Linked DNA regions of Homo sapiens: all the other regions are linked to region 1. Evidence: promoter capture Hi-C in 16 types of primary human blood cells and fetal thymus (Javierre and others, 2016). All regions are on one chromosome and are shown on one strand. The core of a region is centred on a gene start or on the middle of the fragment in contact, and the rest is flanking DNA. Distances in the headings are between cores, read along the strand shown.

Region 1 (4,213 bases), core at 1,105-3,604:
CAACATAGTGAAACCCCATCTCTACTGAAAATACAGAATTAGCCGGGCGTGCCTGTAATCTCAGCTACTTGGGAAGCTGAGGCAGGAGAATTGCTTAAACCTGGGAGGTGGTGGAGGTTGCAGTGAGCCGAGACTGCGTCTTTGCACTGCAGCCTGGGCGACAAGAGCAAAACTTCATCAAAAAAAAAAAAAAAAAAAGAAAAAAGAAAAGAAAGAAGTGGGTGCAGAGGCTGGGCTACAGAAGAACACACTGATTCCCATGGCTGAATACTCCTTCGCACAAGAGCAGAGCCTCTGTGAGGGATAAGGACTCCTTGAAGATCACAGGGGTGGTAAGAGGGAAGACTGGGTTCCCATCATTTCCTGAACAGCTCATGTTATTGATGAAATGTTGAGGTCTCTCCTCACTGAAAGCCAGAGTTTCTGGCATTTCTTGGCTAGAGGACACAAAGGTGGTAATGATGTGTGAGAGGTGAGGGAATAGAGGGGACGTGGAACAGCCTGTCTTTTTGCCTCGGCCTTCTGCTGCCCTTTAGCTATGGGGGGCTCCAGGGAATAAAGCAGGAGAAACATCTGTCCCTGGGCTGAGGGAAGTGGGCAGCCGGTGGCACCTCAGCACAGAGGGATGGGAGTGTTTTCCTTCCACCTTGTCTTGCTTCTGGCTCCCTGGTTAGCTCCAGCTCTGGATCCTGCCTCTCAAGCTGGTGGGTCTTCTGGAATCCCTGACCAGCTCTTTCCCAAAAGCACCCACAGTAGGACACCCCAGTGTGTTTCTGGGAGACATGTATAGGCTGTCCTGGGAGATAACTTTTCCTGATGTTTAACTTGGTCCTTTTTGATACCATCTGACCATCTTCCCTTTTGTGCTGGTATCTTGGGAAGGAGAGAGCCTTATGACTGGAACCCTCAGATGCCCCTCTTCCTGAAGGCCAAGGGGAGAACAGATGTTCCACTGAGTAGAGGAAAGCTCAGACACAGGTGGTGGAAGAAAATGTAACAGAGGGGCTAGGTAAACTCCTCCACAGGCTTTGGGTGGGCCACTTAGTTGGATGTCAAGTTCACAGACACCTGCTTTCATGACTGACATGGACCTCTGGCTACCGGTGCAGCCATGGCAATCACTGTGCTCAGGGATCCAGAACAATCTAGAAGATGCTAAATAAATGTCCTTTCCCTAGGGCAGCAATCACTTTCATTCTACCTTGACCTAATAACCCATGCTCTGATAGTGAGTGTGGACTCTGGGATAAGAGGCAATATGTAGATTTATCTCTGTTTTAATTTCAGCACTTTCTTCCAGGAAGCCTTTTCCTTTGAGGTGCTGCATGATTTCTGTGAGAGTGGGGTTTAAATCCAGTCCCTGAAGAGTGGGAGGATGAGCACTGAGTGAGTGAGCAGACATCCGAGTCCCTTCAGGGTGAGGGGCGCTGCCTCTTCACCAAGTGTCGCAGGGCCCTCCTCACGTCCTTGTTCCGAAGGGTGTAGATGATGGGGTTGAGCATGGGTGTGATGACTGTGTAGAAGAGACTGAGGACGCGGTCTGTGGTAACAGAGGAGCCTGCCTGCGGCCGGATGTAGGTGATGCTGGCTGTTCCAAAGAAGAGAGAGACCACGAGCAGATGGGAGGAGCAGGTGGAGAAGACCTTGCGGCGGCTCTGGGTGGAGGCCATTGCTAGGATGGCACCCAGGATGCGGATGTAAGAGGTGACAATCAGAGAGAAGGGGATCATAATGAAGACTATGGTGGCTGTCATCACGGAGATCTCGCTCCTGTGCTTCCCAGCACTTGCCAGCCTCAGTACTGGCAGGATGTCACAGAGAAAGTGCGGGATGATCGGGTGGCTGCGAAAAGGTAGAGAGAAGATGAGGGAGGCATGGGTGGTGGCCGTGATGATGCCTGTGAGCCAGGAGGTACCCACCATGGCCATGCAGGCCCGTGGGCTCAAGAGGGTGGAATAGCGTAGGGGCTGGCAGATGGCAACATATCGGTCATAGGCCATGGCCGTGAGCAGGCAGCACTCCGAGATGCCCAGGACAATGAAGACGTACATCTGGGCTGCACAGCCCTGGAAAGAGATGGCCTGGGGATGCGGGGAGCCCAGATTGGCCAGGGTCCTGGGCACGATGTCAGTGGTGTAGAAGAGCTCCACCACTGAGAGTTGGCGCAGGAAGAAGTACATGGGGGAGTGCAGGGCAGGGCTGACCTGTGTGAGGAGGATGATCAGGGAGTTACCCAGCAAGGTGACCAGGTAGACCAGAAGCACCACCCAGAACAGGGGGCCCTGCAGGGCCTTGAGGTCAGAGAATCCCAGAAGGAGGAATTCAGGCAGTGTAGTATGGTTTTCCCCAGCCATCACTCCAGGCCAGAAGCTGAGGCACAGCCAAGAAGAGAAGTTATTTAGAAATAACAAGCAACATTTCTGTAATTTGGTAAAGCACTTGCCACACAGTTCCTCTCAAAATCAAGTGAGAGAATTAATACCTTTCTCTGAATGAGCCATGGGTCTCAGAGAGATTAAATAATGTGTCTGAGGTAATATCTAGAAAGTGGCAGGCCTGGAACTTGAATCCAGGTCTCTTGACTCCAAATTCGACGCCTTTCTCACTGTTTCCTGGGCTCTCGTCCTGTGTCTGGGGCCTGACTCTCATATGTAAAGACTCTAGCTCTGATCTTTGGATCTCTCTCCAGAGTGAGGGGTGAAGCAGCTGCTATGACCTAGGCCCCTTTGTACTCTCTAGATGGATGCTGAGGCACAAAAGAAACTGGGTAGCACCAGGGACTGTCCCGAACTGGTGTCTAATGTTCACCATAGTGAGCTGTGGGTTAAGAGTGTCACACAGTGATATGACTATTTGTGATAATACTGCCCAATGGTATCATTGGGATTCTGACACCTTCCCTGATTTCTCTGTTCTCCTCTTATCTGGGGCCCTGTGATCAGCTACACTAGCTGTTCTGTCCCAGCACACCCTGTTCTGTCAGGCCTCCATGCATTGCCATAGTGTCTCCTTTCAGAGGATATTTCTATTCTTCATATTAAAATCCCATCACACTTCAAGCCTTCACTCAAGTTTCGCTATCTCGGTGGCAGCTTTCTGTGATCCTCAGGCTCAGAAATAATTATCCATGGCATTTCAAGATTAAAAGTGACATTTAGGAACATATATTTCCATATGACAGTACTTGGATCTTATCTTCAACATTTTAGAAGGGTGCTGTGCAGAGTCTGTTTGAACATCTGCAGTGATGGGGAACTCACCACCTATTGAGGTAGCCCTTTCTAGCTATGGCCTCTTCTGCCTGTAGGAAAAGACTTTACTGTATTGGTCTTGGCTAAATGCTTAGTATTTCATACAATATTTAACTCCTCTTGCACCAGAGAGCCCTTGAGTATTTGAGGAAGGCACTTTTATCTCTGCTTTCATGAGATGTTGCTTGTCCTTTTGTCCTAGCACTTATTACTCCACTGTGAGATCCTGCAGGACGTGGTGGGGAGGTGGGGAGGCAGTTACCTATTTTAGCAGCTGCTAATGTTTCCCAAGTGCTTGGTTCCTGCCAGGCACCATGCTAAGGGCTAAACATTCATTAAATCATTGGATCTTCCTAATTACACTACGACATAGAAACCTTCATTTTCTCCATTTTACAGATAAGGAGAGGGAAGCCCAGACAGTGTTAAGTAACTTTCTCAATGTCACACATTTTGTAAGTGACAGAGTTTGGGTTCAAATCCAGGTCTGCCTAACCCCAGAGCCTGTGATCTTAACCACCAAGTTATCAACTGCCTTGGAGGTTAATCACCAGTCAAAAAAAAAAAAAAAAAAAAAAAAAGAAAAAAAAAAAAACCAAGGCCAGGCGCAGTGGCTCACGCCTGTAATCCCAGCACTTTGGGAGGCTGAGGTGGGTGGATCACGAGGTCAGGAGATCGAGACCATCTTGGCTAACGCGGTGAAACCCCGTCTCTACTAAAAATACAAAAAATAAGCTGGGCGTGGTGGTGGGCGCCTGTAGTCCCAGCTACTCAGGAGGCTGAGGCAGTAGAATGACGTGAACTCAGAAGGTGGAGCTTGCAGTGAGCCGAGATCGTGCCACTGCACTCCAGCCTGGGCGACAGAGTGAGACTCTGCCTCAAAAAAAAAAAAAAAAAAAAAAAAGAGGTTAATCACCAGAAAAACAAGCTCAGTACTTGGACCATGTCGAGTGTTCGCTAAA
Region 2 (4,213 bases), core at 862-3,361, 910 kb after region 1:
TTTCAACAAGGGCAGAAATTTAAAGATTTCTGTGTTCTGGTGCATCGGGTTTTAATCCAGTATTCCCCTGAAAAGTTTGCATAAACCCCTCAATAAAAGCCTTAGGGTGTTCTCCCTCTTTCTGGTTACATAATTGGAACTTAGACCAATTAACCTTAGGAGGGAAAGCCTCTAATATCACCACCTCAGACCCTGAATATTAGCCTCTAGCTGAGCCATTTCCTGGTCATCCACAGGGAGGCCAGGGAGAGGATCTGGCCACCTGTTCCCCCTGTGTTTAGGGTTTTCCCCTGCAGGCCTTCTGGCCTGTCTATGGACTACAGGATAATCATGGGTGGGATGGGTGGGAAGTACACCCCTTAGTAGCCGGTCAAGGTCCCTGTGAGTGAGACTGTAAATGGCTACTAGCCTCTCTGATTCCGTAGGATCTTCTGAAAGTAGGAGCAAATGGGTTTCGTAATTCAGAAGATTTGCTGCCATCTAGGGGACATAAATTCTTTGTCATGGAGGCCGTGGATATATTCTCAGGGGGCACTGCCTAGGAAAGCCTGGAGCTGTTGGAGTTACTTATATAGCCTGGAAAGGAAGAAGCATCATATGGCACAGGAAGTCAAGCACTGCCTGGTTTATCTAACGGGTTTCTCTTGCTTGTCAGCTCTTATACAATTGACCTGTATGCATCCGGACTTTAAATTAGGTCCAAGTGTTTTCTGCAAATCCTGCAGAGACACAGAAGTCAGATTAGGCAGTTGGTTAGCTAAAGGATTTTCTGGAGACATTAGGGGTGTAATTGTTTTAGGGGTTATTACAGAAGTTTGCTGTGGGGTTAAGACTGGATTTTGAGGAGGGGGATTTTGACCAGGGGCCCAGATGATCAAAGAATCTTCTCGGGGGGTCTGGGACATGTAGTTGAGGATAAAGAAGAGTATAAGTTGTAGGGAAATTTAAATTGGGGGCAGATTTTAACTTTTGTTCTAGATTAGATTTCTGTTTTTTAATCTTGTCAGGAGAGTTCTTAAAGCAAGCCACAACACTAGTGCATGTCTTTCTTTCAATTTGATCTTCTCATAAATACAAATAAGGCAAATGCTTAGAATGAGAGCTCTTTAAAATTTTCCTTAAATTTAAGCCTTTCTCATTCAAAAGATCCTCTGCTGGCCACTTATAATTAGAATTTTCAATGGTTTATTTATTCCAATAATGACTTAATCCAATAAGCCTCTTCATAGTAAGCCAAGGTGGTAATTTCCCAGGTTGAGAATAGGTTGTCACTGTATAAGCAAGATGTGTTTCTGGAGAGGGCACAGAAGAGGCAGTCCCCATAATGCCCAAAAATTCACTCTCAGAAATAGGCTGAAAGTAACAAAAGACAACAAAAGTCCCATAAAAATGGGACCTTTTATGGCAAATCTCCCCTAAAAGCTTGGCACATTTGGTATAAATAATGTGCTGCTTAAAATCGTACATGTCTCAGACTCCCAGTCTTTTCAGATTGGTCACCTAACATGAACCCAAAAATTCATACCCTCCTGATGGCAGAGACTAAGAGAGTACCCACACTTAGTCACAAAGACAAGCTCCCAAGGTTATAAACCAAAAAAAAAAAAATCCAGTTTTTGTTTCAGGGACTAAAAGCAGTTTATCTTTACAGATGCTCATCTAGTCAGCTCAGCAAAAAACTAACCAGTCTGCAGGGCCAGCCTGAACAGTGGGCTTATAGGGGATCTAGGCTCATGTTCTACCCTGTGGTACCCCTCTTTATAAAAGAATAACACAGAAAGACAAAGGAAAATGGAACAACAACAACAAAAGGCTATTTCTGAGAGAAAAAGAGTGCAAACTGTCAAAGGCATTTGAACCACAGTGCCTCCATCTTGAATAGGGACGGGGTAAAATAAGGCTGAGACATACTGGGCTGCATTGCCAGGAGGTTAAGGCATTCTTAGTCACAGGATGAGATGGGAGGTCGGCACATGATACAGGTCATAAAGACCTTGCTGATACAACAGGTTGCAGTAAAGAAGCCAGCCAAAACCTCCCAAAACCAAGATGGCAATGACAGTGACCTCTGCTGGTCCTCATTGCTCATTACACACTAATTATAATGCATTAGCATGCTAAGGCACACTCCCAACAGCACTGTGACAGTTTACAAATGTCATGGCAATGTCAGGAAGTTACCCTAAATGTTCTAAAAAAAAAAAAAAAAAAAAAAGGGAGGAACCCTCAGTTCTAGGAATTGCCCACCCCTCTCCCGGAAAACTCATGAATAATCCATACCTTCTTTAGCATATAATCAAGAAATAACCATAAAAATGGGCTGCTCTGCATATAGAGTAGCCATTCTCTTATTCCTTTACTTTCTTAGTAAACTTGCTTTCGTTTACGCTATGGACTTGCCCCAGATTCTTTCTTGCACAAGATCCAAGAACCCTCTTTTGGGGTCTGGATTGGGACCCCTTTCCAGTAATAAAACAATATAAATATTCACACCCCAAATTAAATACACCAGAGTTGCTAAAACCCAACTAGTCCCATATAAAACGTTTTCTCTCACTAATCTTAAATTTGGAAAGGAAAAGAGAGAGAGTGATTTTTTTTTTTTTTTTTTTACCATTCACTCGACCAGAGAGTTCATGGAAAGAAAGAAACTGGGAGGCTGACCAGTAAGGAATTCTTACCATTTCTTTGCCAACTTTGTTGGGTCCTGGATTCCCTTCACTATGGTCTCCAGAAGTGCACAATGGCTTTGATGATTCTGCCAACTATGCCAAAACCGTAGGGGCCATGGGGAAGCTTCCCCCTTGCCCTAGAAATGTTCACAGAAAAAAAAATCAGCAAACCCTTTTCAGTGAAAAAATCAGTGAACCATTATTGACTATGCCAAAACTGTAGAGGCCATGGAGAAGCTTCCCCCTTGCCCTAGAAAGGTTCACTGAAAAAAAAAAAATCAGCAAATTCTTTTCAATGAAAAAATTAGCGAACCATTATTGCCTCACAATAAGGCTGACTAATAAGAGAAAAGGCGTACAAATTTATTTAACCGTGTGCATGGGGAGAATCACAGAGATTACCCAATTTCCCAGTGGGGCCCAAACACTTATATAATCTTCTTTCAGAGGGGAGGGGGAAGATAGGGAATATAGTAACTGTGGAGAGACAGTAAATGATTACCAAAGGAAAAAGAATGGGTACTTGGGAGAATGAATGAAAGGGGGAACAGAGATGGACTTTCAAATGGTTCTCTTTGGAAGTTGAACGAACTGAGAGACAGGAATTATTTTGCAAAATGGTTGGGCCAGGTCTGGTTACATTCTTTCCTTTCCTGAAATATTAATAGATAATGAGATAACAATGAAGGAAAGGAAAAGCAATTGTTCTTGATGGATCCATCTGATCTTTATGGAGATAGGAGAAAAGTCTCTTCTAGGGCCCATTGATTCCTAAAGGTTTTTAATTCAAAATATGCATTATACTGGGGTGCTCCTTCATTTGATTTCAGAGCGATTTCAGGGTTTCACACAGCTATAGCAAAGTTGGCTATAGAAATATTTATAAACTGTAAAGGTATTAAGCAAACTCACACAATTGTAACATCATGTTTGGTTCATGCTCTTCAGTTGTTTATTCAGAAAGTAGTAAAGCATAGTGTAATTAACAAAATTACTGTCTGGAAACAGAAAAATAATGAGCCACTGTCACCACATTTTCTGTCTGTCACAAGAATTATTTTGGAAGCTCTCTGTCATGTAATAATGTTCAAACAAAATGGAATCACAGCTATTATTTTTTAAAAGAGCAAGGACTGACTCTGAGGAGGGAGATGGAAATGGTAAAAGGCAGAGGAAGAGTGAATGACGAGCAGAATATTGGATATGTGTATTATGAAATGCCTTACAAATGTAGGGCCAAAAACATGGTAAAGACCTAGATAAATTTATGTGAACCTCAAGAACTCCACTTACTGGTTGTGGCTGTTTTATGAGCAACAAATGGCATGCCTGCTCACCCTTCCACAGGGCAGTCTGTCAACTAACAGCAGAAACTAGCCTTACCAAGCTGTCAGAGCACCCCTATCAGATGAATGGACTACACTAAATCCTGAGGCAGGACTCCAGAATCAGGCAGGTCTGACTGTCCTCACCTCTCACACCAGATTGGGTTGGATGGTAGAGCTGTCATCCCAATGAAGACAGCTGGATAGAGCAAGAGG
Region 3 (4,213 bases), core at 992-3,491, 570 kb after region 1:
TTTTTTGAACCCAGGAGGTGGAGGTTGCAGTGAACTGAGATCACGCCACTGCAGTCCAGTCTGGGCGACAGAGCAAGACTCCATCTCAAAAATAAATAAATAAATAAATAAATAAATAAATAAATAAGATTAATGTATTTCATACTTTTATAAGACTACAGAAACAACAGTAAGCATTCTATTAGTGTTGTCTACTAAAACCTTTTGACATCATATTCAATGGTGAAAAGAAGATAAAGGCATACAGATTGGTCAAGAAGAAGTTTAAATTTCCTTATTCAAAATTACATAATTTTGCATATAGAAAATCCTAAGGATCTAGCCCCCTTACCACCCTCAAAAAACTGCTAAAACCGAAAGATAAATCTAAAAAAATCTTGGGATACAAAATTAATATATAAAAATCAATTTATTACTATATACTAACAACAGAAATTGTAAAATTAAATTTATTTTAATATTAAAAGTACCATTTATAATATCAAAATAAAGGTATAAATTTTATCAAGGATGTTTAATATTTCTACATTTAAAACTACAAAATATTGCTACAAAAAAATCTAAGTAAATGAAGATATCCTAAGGATTCCAAATTTTAAAAGAATGTGTTCCTTTGGGTGAAAATAACAACATATTGTAGGAAAATAAATCAGAGATTTTCCTAGTAAACTAGTGCATGCGGACAACTCAAACTACCGCAAGGTGGCAGCACATCCCCATGATAGCACCATCAATACTTGGCCTAGTCAGTGGTGAAAAGTCATGATGGGCTTCTGAGAGGATGTTCCTATTAAATCCTAAGTATTCGATCTACAAAGAACTAGGATCTTTTGATCAATTGAGCCCACATTTTCCTTCAGAGTCCAAAGAGGAAACTGAATTTCTGAAAATGTAGGCGACTTATCAAAGGTCAAAAATAGTTCATGACAGAACCAGGATTAGAACCTGATCTTTTAGTTTCCAGGGCAGCTCCTTCACAGTATTATAAACATTCACTGTGGCCTTTCTCTATCCCAGATCCTCTAGGGACTGTTATTTCTAAGAGAAATGATACGGTGGAATAACAAAATATGTAAACTAAGTAGTGAGCAAAATTTTTGCTTAGGTCCTCCTGATAGAGGCAGGAGGCAGAGAAATTCTAGGCAGACGGGGCGGGTCCCCGGTGAAAACCCACCTTCATGCCAAAGTGGCCTGAGACCTGCAGCCCAAAGTGAGAACTTCCATTCCTCTTTGCCCACTCTCTCCCAATTGGCTCTTTCTGAGTAATGTCTTTTTACCAGTCAAACATGGCCTTTTCCAAAACTACCTATGGCCTGCCCCCACTCCCATCCTGTGCTTATAAAGACCCCAGACTCAGTCAGTAGAGAAGAGAGGCAGCTTGACTTCACTGAGGTGGCTTGACTTCAGGGAATAGCTGGCTGGACTTCGTGAAAGAGCCAGCCGGACTTTGGGGGAAAGACTACCTGCTTGTCCCATCCCCTGTCCAGCTCCCCTGTCCACTGAGAACAATTTCCATCACTTAATAAAATTCTCCGCCTTCACCATCCTTCAAGGCTAACCTCATTCTTCTTGTCCAGCATCCAAGAGCTCAGAACCCACTGAGTGCAGGTACCCAAAAAAGGCTGCCACATTGGCTCTTTGCCCTTGCCAGCAGAGGGCAGCCACCCCACACAATGAGGCAACGGGCCAACCGAGCTGCTAAGACACTGCTGTCTGCAGATGGCAGAGCTATGAGAGCACTGCAAACATGCCCTCTGGGGTTTTGGGGTGGCAGGCACCCCCACCTGGGCACCACTGCAGGCTCCACACTGAGCTTGCTCCTGCTGGTGCCCAAAGCAGCTGGCTGGATCCCACTCACTTACTCACATGCTCTCTCTCACAAAGGGTTGAGTGTGGTGGGCCAAGTAAACAGGGCACCCCTGTCATTAGTCTGACAAAGGGGCTGAGAAAAATCCTGCATCACTCCAGACCTTTTTCTAGTTCCAGCTCTCCCTGACCTAACACTCTCCTTTCAGTATCTTCCCATTTCCTACCCCCTTTCCCACAACAAAATAGGAGATATTCTGATATCAAGAGCCTTATTCGTATTTTGGCTGAACTTCATTTGTTTATTTTGATGATAAAAGGAATGGATATCTCTCACGTTTAAGTAATATTGGGCTATAGAAGTAGATAAACCTTTTACTTGACCTTAAAGTCAGATTCTCATTAAAGCTGAACCCAGTCAGGTAACTAAATATTCTGGTTTTCCTGGGCCTGAGAGGTTTCTCAGTTCTAAAACAGGGAAAGTTCTGAGGTGGGCAACCAGGATGGTTGGTCACCCTAGCTCATTTATGTGAAACTGGGGTTTGTGGTGTGATGTACAACATGATGGACCAGACAAAACAAAATGCATCTGACCATCCCTTTTTGTACCTCTTGCCATCTCTCACTTCACTTCAGCCAACATATATAGGACTACTAAATGTAAGGCTCTGCTATGGTTTGAATGTTTTTGTCTACTCCAAACTCATGTGTTGGAAACTTAATCATCAATGTAACAGTGTTGGGAGGTGGCACCAAATGGGAGGTGTTTAGGTCATGAGGGCTCAGTCCTAATGAATGAATTAATGTTGCAATAAAGGAGCTTTTGGAAGTGGGTTCCCCTTCTGCTCTTCTGCCATGTGAGGAACAGTGTTCCTCCCCTCTGGAGGATGCAGCATTCAAGGCACCATCTTGGAAGCAGACACCAAGCCTGCCAGTGTCTTGACCTTGGACATCCCAGTCTCCAGAACTGTAAGAAATAAATTTCTCTTCTTAATAAGTTTCCCCAGAATACACTATAATGTATTCTGTTACAGCAACAAAAAACTAATCAAGACACACACTGTGCTAGGCCACAGGAATTCAAGGATGAAATATAGTATCCCTACTCTGAGTAGGGTAGCAAATTTTTGCACAAATATGATTCCTGGACAAAATTTTTACTAAATCTGCTTTAGGAAAATTCTCATATCAACCTGGCTTATTTTACAAATACAGTAAATCAAATATGTATATACCCTTTTGTGCCTATTTCTAACAAAACATAGTCATTTTTTTCAAAACTGTAGATAGCTTGTGATAATAGCTAACTTCTGCCAACTCCTTACCAATTTTCTGGAATTCTGCTCTCTGTCTGACTCTAATAACTCTTTGAGGGAAAATCTGTTATTGTCCTCAGGCTTCAAACCAGTAAATTGAGGACTAAATAAGAAAAGTACAATTAATCAAGGACAACATCATACAAATAACAGTGGGAAAAGTAGGTTTCAAGCCCAAATCTGTTGACTCTAAAGCCTATGCCCTCACCCACTCCACTGTACCACTTCTCATCTAGAGGGGATCTTGTTCTGTCAAAAACTTTCTGCATTAATGAAAATGTCTTATATCTGCTCTTTCCAGTATAGAGTAGCCCCTAGCCACACATGACCATTGAACATATGAAATATTGACTTATGTGACTGAGGGACTGAATTTTTAACTTTATTTCATTTTAATTAATTTAAATAGTCACATAGGACTAATGGCTACTGTATTGGACAGCACAGGCCTGGGTTTGTATTATGTCATGTGAATGTAACAGAGTAGATCAATGTAGTGTAACGTAAAAAGAGTGGACATTAGAATCAGACTGTTCAGCCTGCTATTCGTGCCCACACCACTCAACCACCGTGTGAATTAGAGTAACATTTTTTTCTTTAAATCTCTCTGAGACTCAGTTGCCTCATCTATAAAATGAGAATAATTATAATACTACTAGATAGTTGCTGTAAGTTTTAAAGAGATATATACAGTATTTGGCACTAATAATCAATAAACATGTTTCATTTGCCCCTTAAAGATTTAAATGGTTGAGAAGGAAATTGCATGAGCTTTATTTGTCTAATATTTCTTCAAATATTTGACAATCTAAGTCAGAAAATTCTTCTGTATCTCTCTCATTTTGATATAAGTTGGTTTCTTTCATTATATTTTCTCTCTAGAATTGTTGTTGGGATTAAAGTCAGAATGATAAACGTAAAATAGCCCACAGTTATCTCAGTCACCAGCACGTAATTAAGCTCAGTAAGTATTTTTCCTCTCCAGTCCTTCAGCTAGGACTCAGAAAAATTTGTTTTTGAAAAAAAATCCACAAACATCCTGGATGCAGTGGTCAGGGGGAACTTACCGCTACTTCTTCGACGTCAAAGGA

Evidence for each region. Contacts are between HindIII fragments. The CHiCAGO score rates a contact against its expected background, and 5 or more counts as called.
Region 2: a fragment that was not itself captured here is called in contact with the fragment with the promoter of OR10P1 in region 1 in 1 of 17 cell types (M0 macrophages); the score reaches 5.7 in M0 macrophages.
Region 3: a contact is called between a fragment that was not itself captured here and the fragment with the promoter of OR10P1 in region 1, in 1 of 17 cell types (neutrophils). The highest score is 5.4, in neutrophils.

What each region holds. Positions count from the first base shown.
Region 1 is chr12:55,635,033-55,639,245 of GRCh38, reverse strand. OR10P1 (olfactory receptor family 10 subfamily P member 1) reads right to left here and starts at 2,354. Exons shown (of 1, transcript NM_206899.1): 1 at 1,413-2,354. The coding sequence starts at 2,354. The coding sequence ends at 1,413. RefSeq lists an enhancer at 2,016-2,517. The HindIII fragment of the contact is 13,599 bases long and covers 1-4,213 here.
Region 2 is chr12:54,721,688-54,725,900 of GRCh38, reverse strand. No RefSeq gene overlaps it. Among named protein-coding and RNA genes, the nearest start is that of DCD, 75 kb to the right of the region's middle. The HindIII fragment of the contact is 1,374 bases long and covers 1,425-2,798 here.
Region 3 is chr12:55,069,739-55,073,951 of GRCh38, reverse strand. No RefSeq gene overlaps it. Among named protein-coding and RNA genes, the nearest start is that of NEUROD4, 52 kb to the right of the region's middle. The HindIII fragment of the contact is 7,255 bases long and covers 1-4,213 here.